Linked DNA regions of Homo sapiens: regions 1, 2 and 4 are each linked to region 3. Evidence: promoter capture Hi-C in 16 types of primary human blood cells and fetal thymus (Javierre and others, 2016). All regions are on one chromosome and are shown on one strand. The core of a region is centred on a gene start or on the middle of the fragment in contact, and the rest is flanking DNA. Distances in the headings are between cores, read along the strand shown. Region 1 has its middle 330 kb from the start of ANKRD30A. Region 2 has its middle 270 kb from the start of ANKRD30A. Region 3 holds the start of GJD4 (gap junction protein delta 4). Region 4 has its middle 250 kb from the start of ANKRD30A.

Region 1 (5,750 bases), core at 145-2,644, 1.2 Mb before region 3:
TTTGAAATCAGAAATAAATATGTATGTTTCACTCATTCAGTCTCTCCCTCATTCATTCATTTATTCATTCATTCACTCTATTGTCTCTTTGACTCATAGTTATTGAATATGCAAATATTGTGTCAGATACTCTGACAGGCACTGGAGACATACATGTGAATATCATGACATCTTTCTTCAAGGATATTCTAGTGAAAGGAACAAGAAAACAAATAAAAAACTATAGAGGGATAAATGAAATGGAGAATACATTTTAACTCTCCTGTTTTATATGATCGAGGAGGTCTGTTCTGACAGTGGCAACATTTGATGTGATTTTTGAAGAATTTGCAGAAATTGTTTAGGCTTTCACGGCTAGAAGGGCCTTTTGAGCAGAGGGAGGAAGTATTTAGTGTTGATTAATTTGCAAGATGATATATTCGAAAAAATACAAACAGTTTGATTTGCATTCAGTGCACAATTGTTGAGTCTGAATATGACTCTGAAGATGTGTCTGGAAAGGTAAAAATAAGCCAAAGGAAGTCCATATACATCAAAATATAGGTTAATATTATGTCCTCCCTCTTGAGGAAGAGAGTGAGTTATAAAATCTTTTAAGTTAGGGAGGGAGCACAGGAGGTTTTTAGGTGGATAAACTATCTTTATGGTACCTTATTTTTGAATACATGTCATTATGCATTTGTCAAAATGCACTGACACTGATAATAAACCTTAATGAATGCAAATTTTGAGAATTATTTAGCAGCTCATGAAGAAAGTTAGAATGTAACAAAACAATCTAACTGTATTAAAAACCTGTGAAGCAACCTCACCAACAACAGTGGGGAAAAGTTGCTCACTAAAGTAATTTAAGAAATGAGTGAGGTTTGTAAAACTCAAGGGAAAAGGAACAGTAGGTAACACTGTATTCTAGTTGATAAAGGTGTTTCTTACAGGAGTACAGGCTAACAATTCTGATACTGCTATGCATGTACACTAGAATCAAACAATTAAATCATTGATTGGATGATGACTGAAGCCAGGTTTTTCACTGTTGGAGTAAGAGACTACAGAAACATAAGAGGAGAAGGCTAGAATGATCCATATGTAATAGATCAGAATTGGAAATATCAGCATGAAATCATGTTTAGCTTAATACAGATGTAGAGTATAAAATATATATGTAATTACGTACATACAAATGACTTTGTATTCACATATGTAGTTATTTTCTTTGTCAGCTGAGAAGGGCTAGAAGCAACAACATCCAGGTAGAAATGAGTATGCCTAGTACCCAGATCTTGGTTGCTAACACAGTTCTCCAATAAAATGATTCAGTGATCTTTGGATAAATGGCTGCAATGAACAGAATGTTTGTTTACCCCCAAAATTGATATGTTGAAGGCTAATCTCCAATGTCATGGCATTAGAAGGTGGAATCTTTGGGAGGTAACCATGTCATGAAGGTGGAGAACTCATTTATAAGATCAGTGCTCGTATAAGAAGAGATGTGAGAGGGCTTTCTCTCTCTCTGTTTCCCACCATGTGGTAATACAAACCTCACCATACACCAGATCTGCTGGCACCTTGATTTTGGACTTCCCAGCCTCCAAAATTGTGAGAAATGAATATTTGTTTAGGCCACCTAGTCGATGACATAATTGTTATAGAAGCCCCAACTGACTGAAACAATGGCTGATTCTAGGACTGGTACAGAAAATAGACAAGGTGAGCCTGGAGCATGTAGTAGTGCCAGAAAGTGAAGAAAGCTGGCAAATCAAATTAAAAAAAAAAACCTGCAATAATGAACATATGACAAAGGCACACTGGAGCCAACTGAAAGTGTTTCTAATGACCAAAACTGAAACAACAGTTTTTCACATGTAAAGTGTATGGAAGATCTTATAGTAAGCAACTTAAAAAGCTGTGAACTGTCACCAAATTTGTCATCAATGGCTCACATCCCAACAAATGCACAGAAATCTATTCACCTAGAAGTTATCGTGCCTCATTCCATCCAAGTAAAGGACTGCCCTCATTACACCCTTTACAAAACAGATGCTACTCTTCATTACAATTCAATAAAGCACATTTAGCTTTAAAACAAAAAATAAAAATAAAAACAGGTTCATTTATTTCTTTTGATCTTTCATTATAACTTTCACATACTTAATATTTGAAAAAATGAGATTAATTTTCTTTGAGATTTCTTTCAGATATGTTTGTAGAAAATTCAAATGAATGTTATTTGACAAAGTTCATTCAAATTCAGTATTAAATATTACATTCCATAAGGCATATAGTTCTTTAAAAAATATATACAGATAACATGTCAGACAGATGTCACTGATATCATGTATCGAAAACAGAAACTATTGTGATGACCTCCTCCCTTACCTTTTCCAGATGCTGAACTTGATGGAAGCATGTGTCTTTATCCCAGCATATATGAAGTCCTTCTATGTGCTATTTTAAAAGAAGACTAGGGCTGGGCACGGTGGCTGACACCTATAATCCCAGCACTTTGGGAGGCTGAGGTGGGCGGATCCTTTGAGGTCTGGAGTTCGAGAGCAAACTGACCAACATGGTGAAACCCCATCTCTACTAAAAATACAAAAAAAATTAGCTGGGCGTAGTGGTTCACACCTGTAATCCCAGCTACTCAGAAGGCTGAGGCAGAAGAATTGCTTGAACCCGGGAGGCGGAGGTTGCAGTGAGCCCAGATCGCACCACTGCACTCCAGCCTAGGCAACAGAGCGAGACTCCGTCTCAAAAATAAATAAATAAATAATAAATAATAAATAAAAGAAGACTATATATCTTGTATGTATGCAGAAAGTACTCTCAATCAAATATCAAGGGAGAATTTTGTACATTTGTAATCTTTTTCAATAGTTTTTCTCTCACAGGATTTTCAGAACATAAAAAAATTACTAAAACTTAAAGCTTAGAAACAAAAATGAAAACAAGCAAACAGAAAACCCACAAAGACAAAGACAAGACCAGGACCTGCACGCTAAACACTAAAGGTATTCTTAGGAAATTTAGGTGGATTCATAAACACGAATCTGAGTCATAAATTTTTTATCAATTAACCTTTCTTAATTCAGATTTCAATGTTTACTAAGATTTTAAAGCACTCAATAATCTTCTGATAAATTTCAGGTGGATTTTAAATTAAAAATCTGTTTTAAACTGAAAAGCTTTATCACTATTTTTGATTAGGGAGTTGGTAGATAGGAGGAAAAAGCCAAACACAGCTAATTTTCTTATTTAGAAGGTATTAAGAGGTAGTGAGAAATTTCACATGCATATACAACAAATTTAGTCAGATATGAGAGATCATGTCAGTATATTAGGAAAATACACCCACCTTCTATGGATCTAACTAGTATTTTTACTATGTTTCCTTTTCAACTAGATTTTCTTATGCCTTCTGCTGTATTTAGCAGAGATTTTATGTTTAGCCTTAGATGTGACTCAAGTATCAAAACAAATGCTATAAAATGGTAATAGTATATTTTGTATGTTTTATTTTTCACAGTTCTTCTACATATTCATTAGAAGATAAATTCTTTATATATTCTTTTTGAGATAAAAAAGTACATGAGTTGACACACTTGGTCTAATTATTAGGGAATCCTCAAACATGGTCATACCAGTTGGCATAAAAATCTAGTAGAAGACAGGAGATGCAGGAAAGGGTGAACTTAGAAAGAGTGAACTGATCAAATAGAGCAATGTATAGATGGAAACATAGGATTTCCACTGAGAGATGACCCTTGTCGCCCACTGGATTATCTTAGACCAACGAATCATAGATTACCTCATGAGAATGATGTCATTTCTTAAGGAAAATTAATCAATTTCAGTGAAGAAAGTATGGCTTAGAGAATTTGTCCCACTGAGCCTCATAAGTTTCATTCTTCATTTATCATTTTTCAGCATTCTTAGAGGATATTTAAATAACAGGTAGTGACATTCTCTTCACTGTGTGGTGTTTCGTGAATTAGGGCTTTACTGTGGCTCATTAGGCCTGTTATGATAATGGAATCCTCTCTTTATCTCATGTCCTGTATCTTCACACTACTGTCATTTGTGTTCTTCTCCTTCTTGCTGCAGAAACTGTGCCAACTCTTATAGCCTAGCCCTATGGCCACTTTTCAGCCCATCCCAATGAGATGTCATTATAGCACCCAGCACTTTTGGCTACCCTCTGAGTTTGGATTCTGAAATTAGGGTAGGCATCCCTAAAGTCCTCATTCAACCACATACTAACAACAGCCCTTGTGACTTGAAAACCCTTGAAAAAATGACTTAAGCTGCATAAGCCTCAGTTCTGTTGTCTGTAAAATGGATGGAATAATAATAATAGTGCCTGCCTCATGAGATTGTTTCAATATTAAACAAAATGATGCCTATATACTTCCTATCAGGCAGATAGTAACTGCTTAATCAGTTCAGTCATCATCAATGTTATACATACTTAACAGCACTCTTTAAGGTCCTTCTCCTTGCTTCCTCTTCACCTCTCTCTGCTCCATTAGTGGCTCGTGTTTATTCCCAGGTTTCACTTTTCACCATTCTGCAAATTCTTACCAGAAACCCTGCAAATTCCACCTGCTTGCTGATTACTTCCAAGTGTGTATCTCAACCCAGGTATGAAGAGACTTGTTTATTCAATTTGCACAACATGTTTATTGCTTCTTCAAATATAGAAGTTATATTTTCTTTCTTTTTGTATTTCCATGCAAAGCACTTCATGCAGGACTGGCTACTCAGAAGTGTTAACTAAATATCTATTGAGTGAGAAGGACCATCAAACTCATTGCTTTTCTATTTTCTCTCTAGCTTTTGTCTTTACTTGGGCTTATTGTTCTGGGTAAAATCTTAGGGAAGAAAACCTATTTCTGGATTAATATTTTGTTTCCTACCCAATTTAGAACTGGTAGAAGATCCTTAATAAATATCTGTTGCCAAAGAGAAAAGCACTTTTTTATCAAAAAATAAGTATTTAATAGGAAGTTGTGAAAAGAAGTGATATCCCTGGTGGCTGAGAGATGGTGGATCCCTGTACCCACCCTCTAGAAAGTACCCTTTAGATAGCAAGCTCTTAAGAGTACCAACATGTGCATCTGGTCATGCCTCAGATGTTCTTGTAAGGCTTGTGACCCCTGGGGAGGTTAGATAAGCATCTTTATGAGAGGCAGAATATGCTATAGGAATTGTTTCAAGACCTTGCCACATGTGAAGTTGCACCATGCAAGGGTGTAACATTGTTCATCATGGTGGTTTCACTTCAAATGGCATTGGTCTTGCCATGCAACAGGCTGCTTTTCTACTCTCACCCCTTGAAACTGGGCCACACAATCTCACACACGCATCTCTTCTATGATAGTCCCTGGGTCTAGAGGGAGGGTGCTTGATACTGGATAGCTTCAGCAGCAGTGCACTGGCAAAGGAGAACAGATCTGGTCCCAGCGGGATTCTAAATGAGGGAGATTCACAGGCTTGGTTGAATCATCTCTAGTCTTCTGAATACCATGATTTTGATTTTATCAGAAGATGTAAAACATTGAGAGGTACACAACGTTAATAACTTGAATAGTAGAGGCCGGGCGCAGTGGCTCACGCCTGTAATCCCAGCACTTTGGGAGGCCAAGGCAGGCAGATCACCTGAGGTTGGGAGTTTGAGACCAGCTTGACTAACATGGAGAAACCCCATCTCTACTAAAAATATAAAATTAGCCAGGCATGGTGGCACATGCCTA
Region 2 (5,440 bases), core at 435-2,934, 1.3 Mb before region 3:
TGGGTATTATTTCTACTTGTATTTTCTTCTCTGGCATCTGTCATTCTTCATACAAGTACCATATCAAACCATTCTATTTTACCTCAATCTTCTTCAGACTGTCTGGCTATTAATGAATTAATTAAAATTGGCATAAATACGAACATTTTCCCTTTCAGTAAAAAAGTTCTCTTCTTTAATCCACCTCTTAAACTCTTGCCAATTTTTTTTTTATTATTATACTTTAAGTTTTAGGGTAAATGGGCACAACGTGCAGGTTTGTTACATATGTATACATGTGCCATGTTGGTGTGCTGCACCCATTAACTCGTCATTTAGCATTAGGTATATCTCCTAATGCTATCCCTCCCCCCTCCCCCCACCCACAACAGTCCCCAGAGTGTGATGTTCCCCTTCCTGTGTCCATGTGTTCTCATTGTTCAATTCCCATCTAAGAGTGAGAATATGGGGTGTCTGGTTTTTTGTCCTTGCGATAGTTTACTGAGAATGATGATTTCCAATTTCATCCATGTCCCTACAAAGGACATGAACTCATTAAATTTGATAGAACACATTAGCAGGAAGAAGGATAAAAGTTACATGATGACCTCAATAGATGAAGAAAAATGTTTTTAAAAATTCAATGACTTTGATATGTTTTGGCTTTGTGTCCCCACCAAAATGTCATCTTGAATTGTAATCCCCATAATCTCCATGTATCTAGGGAAATACCTGGCAGGAGGTGATTGGATCATGGGGCGGCGTCCCGCATGCTGTTCTCGTGATAGTGAGTGAGTTCTCATGAGGTCTGATAGTTTGATAAGGCAGTTTTCCCTGCTTTTGCTCACACTATCTCCTGTCATCTTGTAATAAAGTTACTTGTTTCCTCTTCTGCCATAATTGTAAATTTCCTGAGGGCTCCCCAGTCATGTGAAACTGTGAGTCAATTAAACCTCTTTCCTTTATAAATTACCCAGTCTTGGGTATTTCTCTACACCAGTATGAAAACGGACTAATACAAACTTTCACAATAAAAACCCTCAATAAATGAGACACAATGTGAAGAAATGTACCTCAACATAATAAAGGCTATATATGACAAGCCCACAGCTAACAGCATACTCATAAGTGAAAAGTTAAAAGCTTCTCCTCTAAGATGCAATACAAGGCAAGGATGCCTATATTTACCACCTTTATTCAACATAGTACTAAAAGTCCTAGCCAGAGCAATTAGACAAGAAAAAAATAAATGGCAAACACAAAAGAAAGAAATAAAATTATTTTTATTTTTTCAGATAACATAATCTTACATGTAGAAAATTAAATTATAAAGAATCCACTAGCACAAAATACTTAGAACCAATAAACTAATTTTTAAAGTTGTAATATACAAAATTAATGTACAAAAATTTGTTGCATTTCTGTACATTAGCAATGAAATATCTGAAAAGTAAATCAAGGGGAAAATCCTATTTACAATAGCATCTAAAGGAATGAGATATTTAGAAACAAACAATCAAAGAGGTGAAAAACTTGTACACTGAAAACTACAAAACACTAATGAAAGAAATTAAAGATGCAAATAAATGAAAAGACATACCACATTTGTGGACTGGAGAACCTCATATTGTTAAAATGTTTATACTACCCAAAGTGATCTACAAATTTAATCCTATCCCCATCAAAATCCCAATGGCAATCCTATAGATATACAAAAAAAATCTTAAAATTCATATGGAGCCACAAAAGACCCTAAATTGCCAAAGCAATCTTGAGAAAGAGCAAATATTGATACTCCCTGATTGAAATCAGAAAATATCACAAATCAGGGAGTACCACACTTCCTGATTTTAAAATATATTACAAAGATTGAAACAGTATGGTAATGTCATAAAAACAGACATGAAGGCCAATGGGAAAGAATAAAGAGCTCAGAAATAAACACAGGCACTTACACTCAACTGATCTTCCACAAGGTTCTCAAGAATACACAATGGGGAAGTGATAATCTCTTCAATAGGGTGGGGGAAACTGGATATCCACATCAAAAGAAATTGGACACTTATCTTCCACCACAAACAAAAATCAACTAAAATAGATTGAAGACTTAAAAGTAAGACCTAAAACTGTAAAACTTACAAAAAAAAAAAATAAGGGAAAATCGTTATGACATTGGTCTTGGCAATGATTTCTTGGATATGACACCAGAAGCAGTGGCAACAAAAGCAAGAATAGACCAGTGGAAAGACATCAGACTAAGAAGCTTCTGTACAGAAAAGAAAAAGAAACCTGACAGAGTGAAAAGAGAACCTATGAAATGACAGAAAATATTTGCTAATTATATATCTGATCAGTTTATATCCAAATATCCAAAATACATAAGAAATTCCTATAGCTATGTAGCAAAAAATCAGATAAGCTGATTTTTAAAAATTTGCAATTGGCATGAATAGACATTTTGCCAAAGAAGACATACAAATGAACAACATGTATATGAAAAGTTGTTAATTATCAGGGAAGTTAAAATCAAAACCACAATGACACTTCATATCTGTTAAAATGGCTGTTATTGAAAAATGTAACAAGTGTGGTGAAAATGTGAAAAAATTGGAACACTTGTACACGATGAGAATGTAAAATGGTACAGCCATTATGGAAGACAGTATAGATATTCATTGAAAAATTAAGAATAGAAATACCATACGATCCAGCTTCTGGATATATATCCAAAAATATTGAAATCATTATCGTTAAGAAATACGTGCACTCTCTGATTTATTGCGGTGTTATTCACAGTAGCCAAGACATGGAGACAACTTATATGTCTACTGATAGATGAAAATATGGTATATGCACACTGTGGATGTTATTCAGCCTTAAAAAAGGAAATTCTGTTATTTTTAACAACACTGATAAACCTAGAGAACACTATGCTAAGTGAAATAAGCCCATTACTGAAGTAGATATATTTCATGACTCTACTTACATAAGGTACCCTAAATAGTCAGACTCACCGAAACAGAGAGTAGAATGGTGGTAGGCAGGGGCTGGCACAAGTAGTTGAAAGTAAATGGAAGGAAAAAAACTTACCATGCAAATAGTAAGCACATTTGTGTAGGATTTGGCTACATCAAAATCAGGAAAAAATACATTTTAATACCAAAAGTATTAATAGAGACAAAACAAAACAATTCACAACTATAAAGGGGTCAAATAAAAGATAAGACATAACATCATAAGTGTTTGTGCAGCTAATAACAGAGTTGCAAAGTACAGAAAGCAAAAATGGACAGGAATAGAAAATTCTATCATTGTTAAGGGTGCTGACCCCCACACAGTCAAAAATATAGTATAACTTTTACTCCCCTAGAATGAACTAGTAGTAGCGTACTGCTGACCACAAGCTTTACTGATAGAAAACATAAGCAGTCAATTAAAACATACTTTGTATGTTATATGTGTTGTATGCTATATCCTACAGTAAAGCAAGCTAGAGAAAATAAAATGTTATTAAAACAATCACAAGGAAGACAAAATATATTATCAGCACTTACTTATCAATACCAGAAGTTTACAAAGTCTATTTACAAGATGAATTGGCTGTCTGAGATGATGGGCAACTAGAGCTTAAGAACTCAGTGTGTAGTACATATCAAGTAGCTCAACATTTTCCTGTAATGTCATGAGTTTTCTCTACCTCTTGGGAACGCTTACAGCAGCAATAGTTGCACTTCCTATGCTCCCATGGGGTTATTCAATATTCATGATATTGCATTAAACACAATGAAAAAGACATGAGAACTACAGGAGATTACATTTTTTTTTTTTTTTTGAGACAGTCGGTCACCCAGGCTGGAGTACAATGGTGTAATCTCGGCTCACTGCAACCTCTGCCTCCCAAGTTCAAGCAATTCTCCTGCCTCAGCCTCCTGGGTAGCTGGGATTATAGGCACCTGCCACCACACCAAGCTAATTTTTATATTTTTAGCAGAAACAAGGCTTCACCATCTTGGCCAGGCTGGTCTCAAACTCCTGACCTCAGGTGATCCGCCCACCTCGGCCTTCCAAAGTGCTAGGATTACAGGCCACCACACCCAGCCAAGAGATCACTTTTTACTGTGCAGATATGCAATTTGTTAGAAAGTTGAGCCACTCACCTGAAGATGACTAGCATCACAAAGCTTTTTATGGGAATACTCACATTTGAACTCACCACAAGAACAGGAGGTTGCTACAAAATTACTACAGTACTACAGTGAGTACTAAAGTTAATTGTATGCAGCTATGATTTAATATTGCATCTTCACATTTGTTTTCATTTTGCTTGACTGCAAATAGCACTTTGTACAGTCTGTGTGTGCATAAGTTTTGATGCATTTAACTTTTTACAATAGGTCCGTGTATATTTTATGATAGTAAATAATAAAATAGTCTGGTATCTACATATGTTTTATGCATTCATGACATACCTAAGTTTTCTTTTTTTTTAATATTTCTAGGCTATAGAGTTTTTTTAAATTTTTTCAAATTGTTGCGAATCTCCAAAAGTTTTTCCAATATATTTACTGAAATAAATCTGCACATAAGTGGACCAATGCCCTTCAAACTTGTGTTGTTCAGGGGTCAATTGCATTCGTTTGTTAGGGCTTCTGCAACAAATTAGTATAAATTTGTTAACTTAAAACCATATGATTTTATTTTTGCCAGTTCTGGAGACTAGGAGGCTGAAACTGAGCATCACCAGAGCCATGCTTCCTCTCAAGGCTGGGGGAAGAATCGATCCTTGTCTCCTCCAGCTCCTGGTGGCTCTTGGCTTGCCTTTCTTTTCTCTTACAAGGACATCTGTCTTTGGAATCAGGGATCTCTCTAGTCCAGGTTAATGTCATCTCTAGATTCTCACCTTAATTATATCTACAAAGACCCTTATTTCAAATAAGGTCACATTCTGAAGTTCTGGTTGATAGATCCTTTGCGGGGGGGTGGTGGAGTGTCACTATTCAACGCACTACGGATAGTTACCTTCTTCTCAGGAACTCACAGAAGAACTAGGAAAAAAAACCCCCACAAAGACATAAAGGATTTGAATCATCCTCTCCACAAACTTGAATTAATTTACGTTTATATAACGCTATACCCAACATAGGTAGATTATACATTCTTTTTAAGTGTACATAAAATATTTATTAAAATGGATTATATGGGCCTGGTGCAGTAGCTCATGCCTGTAATCCCAGCACTTTGGGAGGCCGAGGCAGGAGCTTCCAGGAGTTGGAGACCACTGTGTGCAACACGGCAAAACCCCATCCCAAACACAAAGAATACAAAAAATTAGCCAGACATGGTGGTGCATGCCTGTAGTCCCAGCTACTCAGGAGGTTGAGGAAGGAGGATTGCTTGCACCTGAGAGGCTGAGCCCGCAGTGAGCAGAGGTCACGCCACTGCACTCCAGCCTGGATGACAG
Region 3 (5,828 bases), core at 2,670-5,169:
GTGGCCGACAGAACCATCTCACCATCATCAGAAAGCTGACTCCAGTTCATCACTTTAGTTTTGTTGGGGCATTTGAACGTCATGTGTTTTGTTTTTTTTTTAAATAAAATGTGTTATCTAAATTAAATCCGTACTGAGAATATATCTCCTGTAATGTCCGTGTGTCCCCAGGCCAGCTCGCCCTTCTGCCTGAGGACCTTCGTTGAGTGATGAGATTTTACAGGTGCCAAAGTGAGTATGCATCAGCACAGGCATTCCCGTGTGCAAAGGACAGCCGGGCTCTCTCAGCTCTGCTTGGTGCTTTTTTTTTTTTTTTTTTTTTTTGACAGGGTCTCACTGTGTTGCCCAGGCTGCAGCGCAGTGCCGTGATCTTGGCTCACTGCAGCCTCGATCTCCCAGGCTCAAATGGTCCTCCCATCTCAGCCTCCCAAGTAGCTGGGACTACAGGAGGGAGCCACTGTGCCCAGCTAATTTTTAGATATTTTGTAGAGACGAGGGTCTCATTATGTTGTCCAGGCTGGTCTCAAACTCTTGGGCAAGGAGATATATTCTCAAACGATCCTCCTGCCTGGGCCTCCCAAAGTGTTGGGATTACAGGCGTGAGCCCCGGGGCACCGCCAGGTGCTGTTTTTTTCACACCCACTCAGACTTCCTGGCTCTCAGGTGGGGAGCACCACTGGAGCTGGCAGGCGGGTCAGGGGGCTGCAGGCTGCTGCAGGAAGGGGGCGCGGCCAGGCGGCTGGGGGCTGCTGAGGGCTGCTCCTCGGATCCTGAGCCCCTGGGGTCCTGGGCGGCCTCTCGGTGGGGCCTGCCCCGGGGCTGTCTGCCCAGCTTTTCGCTGGCGGAGGATGTCACCTCACTCTCATCCTCATCCGGAATCTTCGTGTGCCCTGACACCCTGGATGTACGCCTGGGGCTGCCAGCCCCCTCCCCTCCGGCGCGTGCACCCGGGGGCGCCGGTGCCCCCTCTTCCTCCCGCCCACCCTCCTCGTCAGTCCGGCGTCCCTCCGCGTGGCCTGAGGCTCCGCTCTGCTTCCGGATGGAGGGGCTTGTGGGGGGTCCCGGCCTCCTGCGCATCCGCCGCCGCAGGCTGCAGACCAGGTCGGCGAGGCCCAGCAGAAAAGACAGCGCGCTGACCGCCCAGAGGAACAGCATCAGCAGGGACTTCTCTGTGGGCCGCGACACGTAGCAGTCCACCACGCCCGTGCACGGAGGGCGCGTGCAAGGGAACTTCTTCGGGGCCAGGAATCCAAAGAGAAAGTAGTGCAAGGCCCCGAAGGCTGCCTCCAGCAGGGTCCGGAGGAGGAGGTGGATGATGTAGCCGGCCGAAAAGTCGGGCACCTGGAGGCCGCCGCGCTCCCCGAATGGCCGCGGGCAGCGTCTCTGCCCGGAGGCCGGCTCCCGGGGGTCGGGGCAGCGGCGGGGGCCCAGCGCGGCGAGCGTGGCTCCTCGGTGCAGGACATAGACGCTGAAGACGGCGGAGGGGAGGAGGACGCACACGCCCTGGATCAGCCAGAACCGCAGGTGAGACACGGGGGAGAAGACGTCGTAGCAAACATTGGCGCATCCCGGCTGCAGCGTGTTGCAGACAAACCTCTCCTGCTCGTCCTGGTAGACGGGTCGCCCCGCCAAGACAATCACCAGCATCCGCAGCAGCATCGTGAGGACGAACCAGAGCTTTCCTGGAAGAGAGGAAGCGGGCATGGCCTCATCACCCCGAATACACTGCCCTGAGTAACAGCTTTAAAGTGTCTATTGGGGCTGAGATTGGGAAATTGAAACGTCAATAAGCATGTCTTTAGTTTTCTGTTTGTTTGTGTTGTCGTTGTTGTTGTTGTTGGACACAGGGTCGTGCTATATTGCCCAGGCTGGTCTTGAACTCCTGGCCTCAAGTGCTCCTGCCGCCTTGGCCTCTTGAGTAGCTGGGATTACAGGCATGAGCCACCACACCTGTCAGCTTGTCTTTACTCACAGCATCAGGTAGTTCATTTGACAAATATTTACTGAGCACTGAACATCCTTGTTTGTAAGATGCTTCAAGATGAGTAGATTTTTAAAAAGCATTATATTAAAAGTGTTTTAATCTGTCTGCTAATTCAGACTTTTGGTAATGTCTCCTGGACTGATAGGTCCAGAAAGAAAGTTTGGCTGAGCAAATTAATGATTTAAATAAGATTTAAATTTTCTTCTTAGGAGAATAAGCCTTTTAAAAGAGGTTGGTGTATTTCTGTAACTGCCAATTCGAGCTGCTGATTTCAGTAAATCTTACTTATGACAACAGTCCAGGGATCTCTATTTAATCACAGGGCTTGTATTTAATGTTAGTCTACGGCCCTTGAAATTGAATTTCTTTATGAACATTCCATTTTTCAGATTTTTTAATCATTCAGAATTCCTCTTCCCCTTTTCCAGTTATTAGGAATGAATGGGGCTTGTCTTTCTTCAATGTATCGTGAAGGAATGACACCAAGCTAGAAAACCAAAATAACTGTCAAGCCCTATTTTCATGGCACCGGCCAACTGTTTCGAAACATGTTTAAAACTCAGCCAAAATAACTTGTGAATATTGTGTTTTGTGATGAGAGAAACATCGCCTGACATCATAAAAACAAAACAAAAATAAATATGTAAAGACAGTCAAACAAAGAATAATATCATTATGTGATGAGTCATTGAGTTGAACTTTTAACATCAAGTTGGTTTTGTCTAAATCTACAAAATAATGAGCCAGAAAAGTATCAACTGCATCTCCGGCATATATTCATCCTTTTCTGACCCCCATACCTCTCTGAAAATGTGAGTCGTCTGCATTAAACAAAAATCTATTATTTTCTTTGTTAAAAAAAATAACTAAACTTGGGATTTGGTTTAAAGTGCACAAGAGAAATGGCTACTCCTTAAAAATTAAGCTTCCAGGCCAGGCGTGGTAACTCACGCCTGTAATCCCAGCACTTTGGGAAGCCAAGGCGGGTGGCTCACGAGGTCAGGAGATCGAGACCATCCTGGCTAACACGGTGAAACCCCGTCTCTACTAAAAACACAGAAAATTAGCTGGGCGTGGTGGCAGGCGCCTGTAGTCCCAGCTACTCGGGAGGCTGAGGCAGGAGAATCACTTGAACCCGGGAGGCAGAGGTTGCAGTGAGCTGAGATTGCATCACTGCACTCCAGCCTGGGCAACAGAGTGAGACTCTGTCTCCAAAAACAAAAAAAAAAAACCAAGCTTCCAGAATAAAACCTAAAGGTATCACCTTCTGATTAACATTTGTTGTTCTGTTCCTTTTCCTGGTAACGTAGCCACACCAGGGTTGCACACAAACACCCCTCCACCTGCTTTGGTCTTTGGAGTCAGCACCCCAGTGTCAGCACAGGATGATCTGTGAGAGAACAATGTCAAACGCAAGACTCCCTTACATGACGGAGGAACCGCGGAACCATTCAAAGAAACTAGAAGCCTCAGCTCTCTTCCCTCCAGAAAGGCACAGCCCTTTCTTTTGGGAGTGGGTGGACTTTCAGCTTGGTGCTTGCACACTGAAAATGAGTAAATACCTGGACCCTTTAAGGACTCAATTCCACCATGGCAGTGGAAATAAAAACAGCGCAGGAGTTTGGAGATGGTCCCAATACTCACCCACCATGGTCACGTTGCAGTTTAATGTGATGATGAGAAACCCTAGCAAGTCCACGCCTTCCATGCTTCCAGAATGTCCCAGGCTCCAGGCTGCAGGAGACACTGGAGGGCTGTGTTCTCCAAGGAGGCGGATAAATGTCCTTTAACTACATAAGACTTAAAGGTGTGAGCTGGAGATAAGAAAGCAAAGGTCTGAGCCAGGAGTAGGAGGTGGGTTTTTCTGTCTCCAAGTTGAGACGGCCCTAAGCCGTTTGCCTCTGAGGCGAAACATTCCTGACAACTGCAGTGACCAGCAGAGCAAGCAGCAGTCATCTCTTATTGTGGGCTATTCTTACTCGCCTGGGATATTCCCGGCCTGTGGCAGCGCTCATATGTCCCCACCAGGACAGCCAGATGCTTCAGGATATAATAGCAGCAACTACTTTTAACCCAAGAAAGAAAACTTCTGCTAACTAGCCAAGTAAATTTCTCTATTAAAAAGGCATTTCCTCCTTGAAAACATTTCCACAACCACTTCACTTGTGCAAGAAGCCCTTAAAGTGTTCACGTTTTGTCTTCTCAATCAAGCATGAATCGCCATGCCACCATCACACGAACCCACAAGGATCTCGCCCTTATTCTGAATTCCTGTGTCATTGGTGCAGGCAGAAATCTGAAACTCAGTTGGGTGTCCCAACTTTAGACCGTGACTTGGTTATTCTCCTGCTGCTTCCTGTGCAGTGAGTGACAACTCTTCGCTTGGAGACAAAAGCCTGGGTGCAAAGCCCGGGGCAGCCCCCTACTCACTGGGGAAGTCATTGGATCCTTCCAGATAGCCTCATCTTGCAATAAGGAGAATCATGCCATTCCACTTGCCATTTGTGGGAGGCTTATGTGAAATGATGGTGTAGAATAAGAGCAACTGGTGTGAAGTGGGTGTACGACAACCCATATCCGTGGGATTTCAATCCCTAATTGGCCTCTACGACCTTCACAGATTACATCTTCCCTTTGTATCTCCCAGCCCCATCTAGCCTGGAGCTGTTCCCATTGAATCTACTTAATAAATGTCTGTTAAATCTGTCATGAAATATCACGGTCTGGACCTGCTGACATCAATCACAGTTGCGTCAAAATCCTATCGCTGCAGCCACCTTCATATCTGGGAAGAACCCATCCTGCAGGGTTGGGGATCTATGATCAGGGTGGAAATTGTAAACTTTAAAAGGAATGATTTCAATTTTCCATGAAAGCTATTCTTTATATCCCCATCTTTTCTTCATTTCTGATCTATTCTTGACTTTAGTAATATCCCTAGAAAGATTCCCAGAAGAGTGCAACAAAGCTACTTTCATCTTTGCTCACATGACATGCTCCCATCCACGGAAAACGTTTTGACCCCCTTGAAAGGAACAGTGGTTTTGCTATATTTTAGTCAAATGCTTCGACATGAGCAAGGAAATTTGAGAAATTGTAGTTAAGTAAAAATATTGAAATAGTCACAGGGTGTAAGTATAAAATAAAGGAGAATTTGTCTCCTAATAGACTGCTCATGGTATTGGCTTTAAAAAAAAAATGAAATATCAGGAAAGCAATTACTGACTCTTGCTGTGTGATAGAAATAGCCCATCCCAAATGTGGAATAAATTAGCCCTGCGCGACCATGAGCAAATCACTGCAGCTTTTCATGCTTCGGTTTTCTCATCAGTGAAGCAGAAAAAAAGAATGTGTTCTTCACCCACTCACAGTGACTGTGATATGCAAATGTGACCAGAGATGTGAAAATGATTTTGAAATGTAAAGAATGACCCAGTGTCAGTGACAGGCGCTTCTCAGGGTTGGCTCCTCTGGTCCCACCCTTCAGGGCATCTTCTGAGCAGCCCATGCCCACCCATCTCCCTTCTCATCCTGGTCACCTTTGCTCTTCCTCCTTGAAGTCTACCCCATCCCCATTCCTTGTCTTTTTTCTCTTTCTCTTTTTTTCCTCTCTCCTGCTAGGTGACATTTTGCTTTACTTGGAAATCTAACTCTGGTCAGGCGCGGTGGCTCACGCCTGTAAATCCCAGCACTTTGGGAGGCTGAGGTGGGTGGATCACCTGAGGTCAGGAGTTCAAGACTAGCCTGGCCAACATGGCGAAACCCCATCTCTACTAAAAATACAATAATTAGCCGGGCATGGTGGTGGGCACCTGTAGTCCCAGCTACTTGGGAGGCTGAGTCA
Region 4 (5,744 bases), core at 873-3,372, 1.3 Mb before region 3:
TTTAGTCATAAATTATTTGATGCATACACTAACATAAATTTTTGAAAAACAGAGGAAAAAAGCATAACCAATTCCCAAGGAGCATGACTCTCTTAAGTTCTTTCTTACCCATTCCTTTTGACTTTAGTATTCAAAAGTCAATATTTTAGGACACCTTGCTAATCTACTTCTATCCCCGATGGTTTTGCAATAATGAATAAGTAGGTTTCCACATAAATGAGGACAATGTTTCACTAATGGACTGTGAAGGAATGCAGGGAAAGAAACAGACAAATAGACATGGGTAGGCGGGAGTCACCGGGACAGCTTCTTCTGAATAGTGAAGGCGCAGGTCTGAGGTAGGGAGTATGCCGTTGGGTAGACAGAAACCTTTTATCCCTCTTCTAACTAGCCCCAGTATTTTGTCATTGACTCCATCTCCACGTTGGTAATGGGAAATTCTCATAGTTTCTGACAGAAATAGCTTCTTTGTATACAGCCTTTAAGAGAAACGCTTATATTGTTGAACATTAATTTCTTTAATAAATGAGGAGGTATGCATGATTTGATTATGTGAGGAAAACCATATCATCAAAACAATTGCACTTTTGTAATTAAATTTTGGGAATTATACACTAAATTATTGTGCATTTCTAAATCAAAACATACTAAGGAATCTTCTGTGTTAGAGAGCATTATCACCACTACTCCCACCACTACAGCCAGCATAATCATATATTTTCTTATTGGTGTATATTTTGTACCAGGAAAGTGGTAAACATGTTACATTCATATATTCATTTACTTATGTTAAAACGTTATCACATAGGTATCATTATTATCCCCACTTGACAGACAAGGCAAATGAGTGAAAAAGTTACTAACTAAATTGATAAGGGTCACAGAACTAGTTAGATCCAATAGGTGATTTGTGCTCTTAAATACCAAGGTAGAGCAGAAACTTAGAAATTACTTTTAAGGACTGGACATTTCTGTGTTAGACATTCTCAAACCACCAGAGAGAACAGTTAAGATGTTTATTTGAGGAGATTTCTAAATAGCATCCATGCTATTAATAGACTACCTGTGCCTATTCTACTCCACAAGTATTCTAGAACCTGTGAGAATTTTTAAAGTATCCCCAGGTGATTGTTCTTAATCCTTACTCCTCCCTAGTTAAAAGTCCTAAAAAATAAGGATAACTGAGAAATAGAATAATGCTTCTCATACTTAAATGTATATGGCAATCAGCTAAGAATTTTGGTAAAATGCAGATTCTAACTCAGCAAGTTTGGGATAGAGCCTGAGATTCTGCATACCTAGCAAACTTCCAAGCAATGTTGATACTGCTTGTCCGTGGACCACTCTGAGTAGCAAGGGTCTAGATTATTTGGAACTTGCTGCTAACCGGCCCAGTTACCCAAATATCATCAACGTAATGGACCAAAATGATATTTGGCAAAAATATTCAGATTATTATTTTGAATGTTATATTCATCTGACTTATCTAGTCATATAATTGTTCTTATAGCATTTTAATAGATACATTTTTAAAATCTGAACCATATTATCTTGATCTTCTTGTATGCTTTTTCTCACTTAAATTTATTTTCTATGATAATTTTATTTGATCTGTTTGTCTGTCTTAGATCTAGATAGAGAATGGTCTTAAGAGGATGAATATAAATGATAATTGGTATTTCATTCATTGAAATGTAACAATTTTTTGACGTTGAGAATACAAAATGTCGATATGTGAATGCATATACATTAGGAGGGCTGTTTTGACTGCTATCGTTGTCCTCCTAAAAGCTGGACAACGGCTTTGGATTGTCTACATTCTCTGGACAATAAATGGATTGTCTACATTCTCTGGAAATTCACATTGCATGAGAAGAGAACTAGTCTTCTAAATTTGAAGAACAGCCTTAAAGCTCAGTTTTCAAGTATGCACAAAGATACTGCTATGGTTTAAATGTGTCCTCCAAAAAGCATGTGTTGGAAACTTAATCCCCACTGCAATAGTGTTAAAAGGTAGAACAGTTAAGAAGTGACTAAGTCATGAGGATGCCAGCCTCATGAATGGATTAAGGCTGTTATTGCAGAAGTGGGTTCCTTATCATGGGAGTAGTTTATAAAAGGATGAGTTTGGCTTCCTCTTATTCTCTCTTATACTCTTTGCCTTTTGGCTTTTCACCATGAGATGACACAGCAAGAAGGCCCCATCAGATGCGAGCTTCCCAATCTTGGACCTGTCGGCCACCAGAACTGTAGGAAATACATTTCTCTTTACTATTAATTATGCAGTCTATGATATTCTGTTAAAGCCACACAAAATGGACAAGACAGATATTGTGAAGGATATTGATGAACAATATTTTTTCTATGACCAAGAACAATGATATACATTTAATTTTGCAGATAATCAGGTGATTAAGACTTATTTCAGCTTCTTCAAGCATCTGCAGAACTGGTAAAGCCCAGTGCTGGTTCTACCAGCACTGCTGTGTCCTGCAGGGCTCTTTGCTAGAAGCAACAAGGCCCTAATCATACTCTTTTCTTGTCTGGATTTTGACTTTCCTCCAATGGTATGCCTCAGTTTCTGTCTATGTTCCTTATTTTAGAGATGGCTCCTGCTGAGTTGCTCAGGCTGTTCTCAAACTCCTGAGCTCCAGCAATTCTCCCACCTCAGCTTCCTGAGTAGCTGAGATGACAGGCACAAGTCACTGCACCCAGCTGCTGCCTATATTTTTAAACCTGGTTCCTCAACCTTCCAGCCAAATCTGGGAACTCCATGACATTCATCCAATAAATTAGGTGTCTGTTTAAAACAACTGGATTTTCTTTCTGTTGTTTGCCCTGATTAATAGACAGCTTTGATCTGCTTCAGCTCAGTCATTTGGGCTTCTGTTTCTTATAACCGAAGAGCTTTGATTTAGGCTCTTTTCAAATAAAAAAACCACAATAAATGGAAAGCCAGACACTTCTATCACATTGTTTTTCAAGTTGAAAAGAGATTATACAGTAGTAATTCTTCATCATTTTGGGATCACTAAAAGTAAAAATCATTGTTGGAGATTACTGTACCCACACTCCAGAAAGATGTGCATCTATATATACACAAATAAATTTGCTTATAATATTCGGGAGTTCTGAGACAGAACAATGGAGTCAGGTAAAATGTTATAAAATACACTTAATTTTTTTCAAAGAAAAGAATATAGAATTTATTTTAGAATTTATATTTTCCAGCTGGCCGCAGTAGCTCACACCTGTAATCCCAGCACTTTGGGAGGCCGAGGAGGGCAGATCACGAGGTCAGGAGATCGAGACCATCTTGGCTAACACGGTGAAACCCCGTCTCTACTAAAAATACAAAAAAAAAAAAATTAGCCGGGCGTGGTGGTGGACGCCTGTAGTCCCAACTACTCTGGAGGCTGAGGCAGGAGAATGGTGTGAACCCGGGAGGCGGAGCTTGCAGTGAGCCTACATCGCGCCACTGCACTCCAGCCTGGACGACAGAGCGAGACTCCGCCTCAAAAAAAAAGAAACATTTTATTTTCCAATCTCTTGTCCAAAAATAGATATTGTGTACAGTCTCATTCTTGCCTGTTACAAATAGCTCATTCTGACTTTGGTTTACTAATGTCACTAATGTCTTTGACAATGGTCTCTGGATTGTTTGTTTGTTTTGTTTTGTTCTGTTTGAGACAGAGTCTCGCTCTGTCACCCAGGCTGGAATGCAGTGGCACGATCTCGGCTCACTTGCAAGCTCCGCCTCCGGAGTTCACGCCATTCTCCTGCCTCAGCCTCCTGAGTAGCTGGGACTACAGGTGCCCACCATCATGCCTGGCTAATTTTTTTGTATTTTTAGTACAGAAGGGGTTTCACCGCGTTAGCCAGGATAGTCTCGATCTCCTGACCTCATGATCTGCGCTCCTAGGCCTCCCAAAGTGCTGGGCTTACAGGCGAGAGCCACCATGCCCGGCCTCTGGCCCCTGGGTTTTTAATCCATGTTCACACTTCTCATTCTAGGATGGAAGTCCTAATTTAAAGTCAATGACATGGTAAACCCATTAAGTATTCTTATTAGCTTCCTTTCAAGGGATCCTAGATTATGCAGTGTAGGATTTATGTAATGCAAGACCTAGCTGCGAAATAATTGGGGATCAGTAAGTATTGGAGGCAGGAGGAGCCACAAATGATATTCTGAAACATCATGTCCAATTCCATAATAAACCTCTGCTTCATGTGCAAACTGACAAGCAATCCACCTAATGTTACCAGGTTTAACCTTTTCTTTTCACACTGAATTCTGTTTCACTTTTTCACATTTACTCTTTTGATTATTTTCCAGAAAAGCAAAAAAGTAGTCTTAAAAAAGAAAACTGAAAAGCCAATTGAAAAACAATCCGTTTTTAAAATAATTGATTTTAATGCTTCCCCATCAGCAACAACTGATTCCAATTTAATGCACAATATCTTCTTTAATTGTAATAAAAGGCTTATTAGAGGCTCTCGATTTACAGAAGGATTTATCCAATTTCAGCTGAAGCTGCCCATTCCTTTTTAGATGCTTTCCAAGGCAGATTGTCTGCAGTTAGTATGCGGCTCAGTGACCCTCTGTTGTCTCGGCTCCACACTGTGGTTTGGTGCCACAGGTGCATTTAGCCAAAATATGGGGAAAAGTGCAAAGGAGGAGGAGGGAGCACACAGAGAAAAAAGAGAGGGAGATGCCAGAAAGACAAAGACTGCAAAGAAACAAAAGCAATAAAAATGCACAGAAATCAGATATTTTGCACACTAGATCTTGACTTCTGCCTATCTTTCCTATTTGTCAAGGTCAGTTAAATAACCTAAGGTTATTTATTTGAGAACTTTAGTAAGATAGTGTGTGACAGGTGTGAAGGACATGACCATCCCTCAATAGCACATGGCAGGCAGGTGTGCAGTGCCGGATGGCAAGTGAGGAGGAAGCTGTGCTGACTTTTACTTACTATTTTCACCCTTTTCTTCTTCCTTTTCATCAAATATTTGTTGATTGGCTCCTGTGTTCTATTTGGCCAGTTCTATTTGGCCTCTAAGGTGTGCTGTTCATTGGATGATATTTATTAATATTTAGAGGGAAAAGTGGTCAGAACACCTTGCAGGGCAATGCAAATGCACCTACTCTTACGGACGTACTAAGAAGCACTAAGTGAAAGGAAAGGCCAAATGAAGAAGTGAAACACACGTTTGCTAGGGATCTGGTAGTACTTGGTTCTGGTTTCAGCTTTGTTGTGTATTAACTGTTTAATCATCGACAAAATCACTGACATCCAAACCTCTGTTCTTCACCCATGTGAGATCTTGTTGGAGCTGTGTTCAGGGTTACATAAAGCTGTGAATGAAAACGGCAGAGAAGAGAACCCAAACAGATAAACATAACAGCATCCCAGGGACACAAACAGCTAAAACAGGCAGTGATTACAACCAAAGTATTTATATGAAAGAACAGGTTCAAAGATGACATATCAGGACAGATTTCCATCACTGCAGACCAGTGATAGAAGGCTCCAGACTGGTTTAACGTAGGACATGAACCCATGTTTTGTCATCTGTGTCTCCTGAGCCATTGGAAAAAAGCTACAAGAAATTTTTGTGTTTATTGAGACATGAACAATGCATTGGGAGGACTTGTAAGAAAAACGAAGTCACTTTGGAAAAACTGATTTACTGTACTTTACTTTCCTTAAATACGAATTAAACCAGAGAGGCCATGCCAG

Evidence for each region. Contacts are between HindIII fragments. The CHiCAGO score rates a contact against its expected background, and 5 or more counts as called.
Region 1: a fragment that was not itself captured here is called in contact with the fragment with the promoter of GJD4 in region 3 in 1 of 17 cell types (endothelial precursors); the score reaches 7.6 in endothelial precursors.
Region 2: a fragment that was not itself captured here is called in contact with the fragment with the promoter of GJD4 in region 3 in 1 of 17 cell types (endothelial precursors); the score reaches 5.4 in endothelial precursors.
Region 4: a fragment that was not itself captured here is called in contact with the fragment with the promoter of GJD4 in region 3 in 3 of 17 cell types (endothelial precursors, M2 macrophages and M1 macrophages); the score reaches 6.7 in endothelial precursors.

Annotation. Positions count from the first base shown.
Region 1 is chr10:36,793,246-36,798,995 of GRCh38, reverse strand. No RefSeq gene overlaps it. Among named protein-coding and RNA genes, the nearest start is that of ANKRD30A, 330 kb to the left of the region's middle. The HindIII fragment of the contact is 3,067 bases long and covers 1-2,927 here.
Region 2 is chr10:36,852,108-36,857,547 of GRCh38, reverse strand. No RefSeq gene overlaps it. Among named protein-coding and RNA genes, the nearest start is that of ANKRD30A, 270 kb to the left of the region's middle. The HindIII fragment of the contact is 1,120 bases long and covers 1,125-2,244 here.
Region 3 is chr10:35,603,432-35,609,259 of GRCh38, reverse strand. GJD4 (gap junction protein delta 4) reads right to left here and starts at 3,919. Exons shown (of 2, transcript NM_153368.3): 1 at 3,629-3,919; 2 at 325-1,682. The coding sequence starts at 3,692. The coding sequence ends at 634. It overlaps GJD4-AS1 (GJD4 antisense RNA 1), which reads left to right and starts at 1,067. Exons shown (of 2, transcript NR_199600.1): 1 at 1,067-1,734; 2 at 3,295-4,698. The HindIII fragment of the contact is 9,701 bases long and covers 3,223-5,828 here.
Region 4 is chr10:36,872,367-36,878,110 of GRCh38, reverse strand. No RefSeq gene overlaps it. Among named protein-coding and RNA genes, the nearest start is that of ANKRD30A, 250 kb to the left of the region's middle. The HindIII fragment of the contact is 7,453 bases long and covers 1-5,744 here.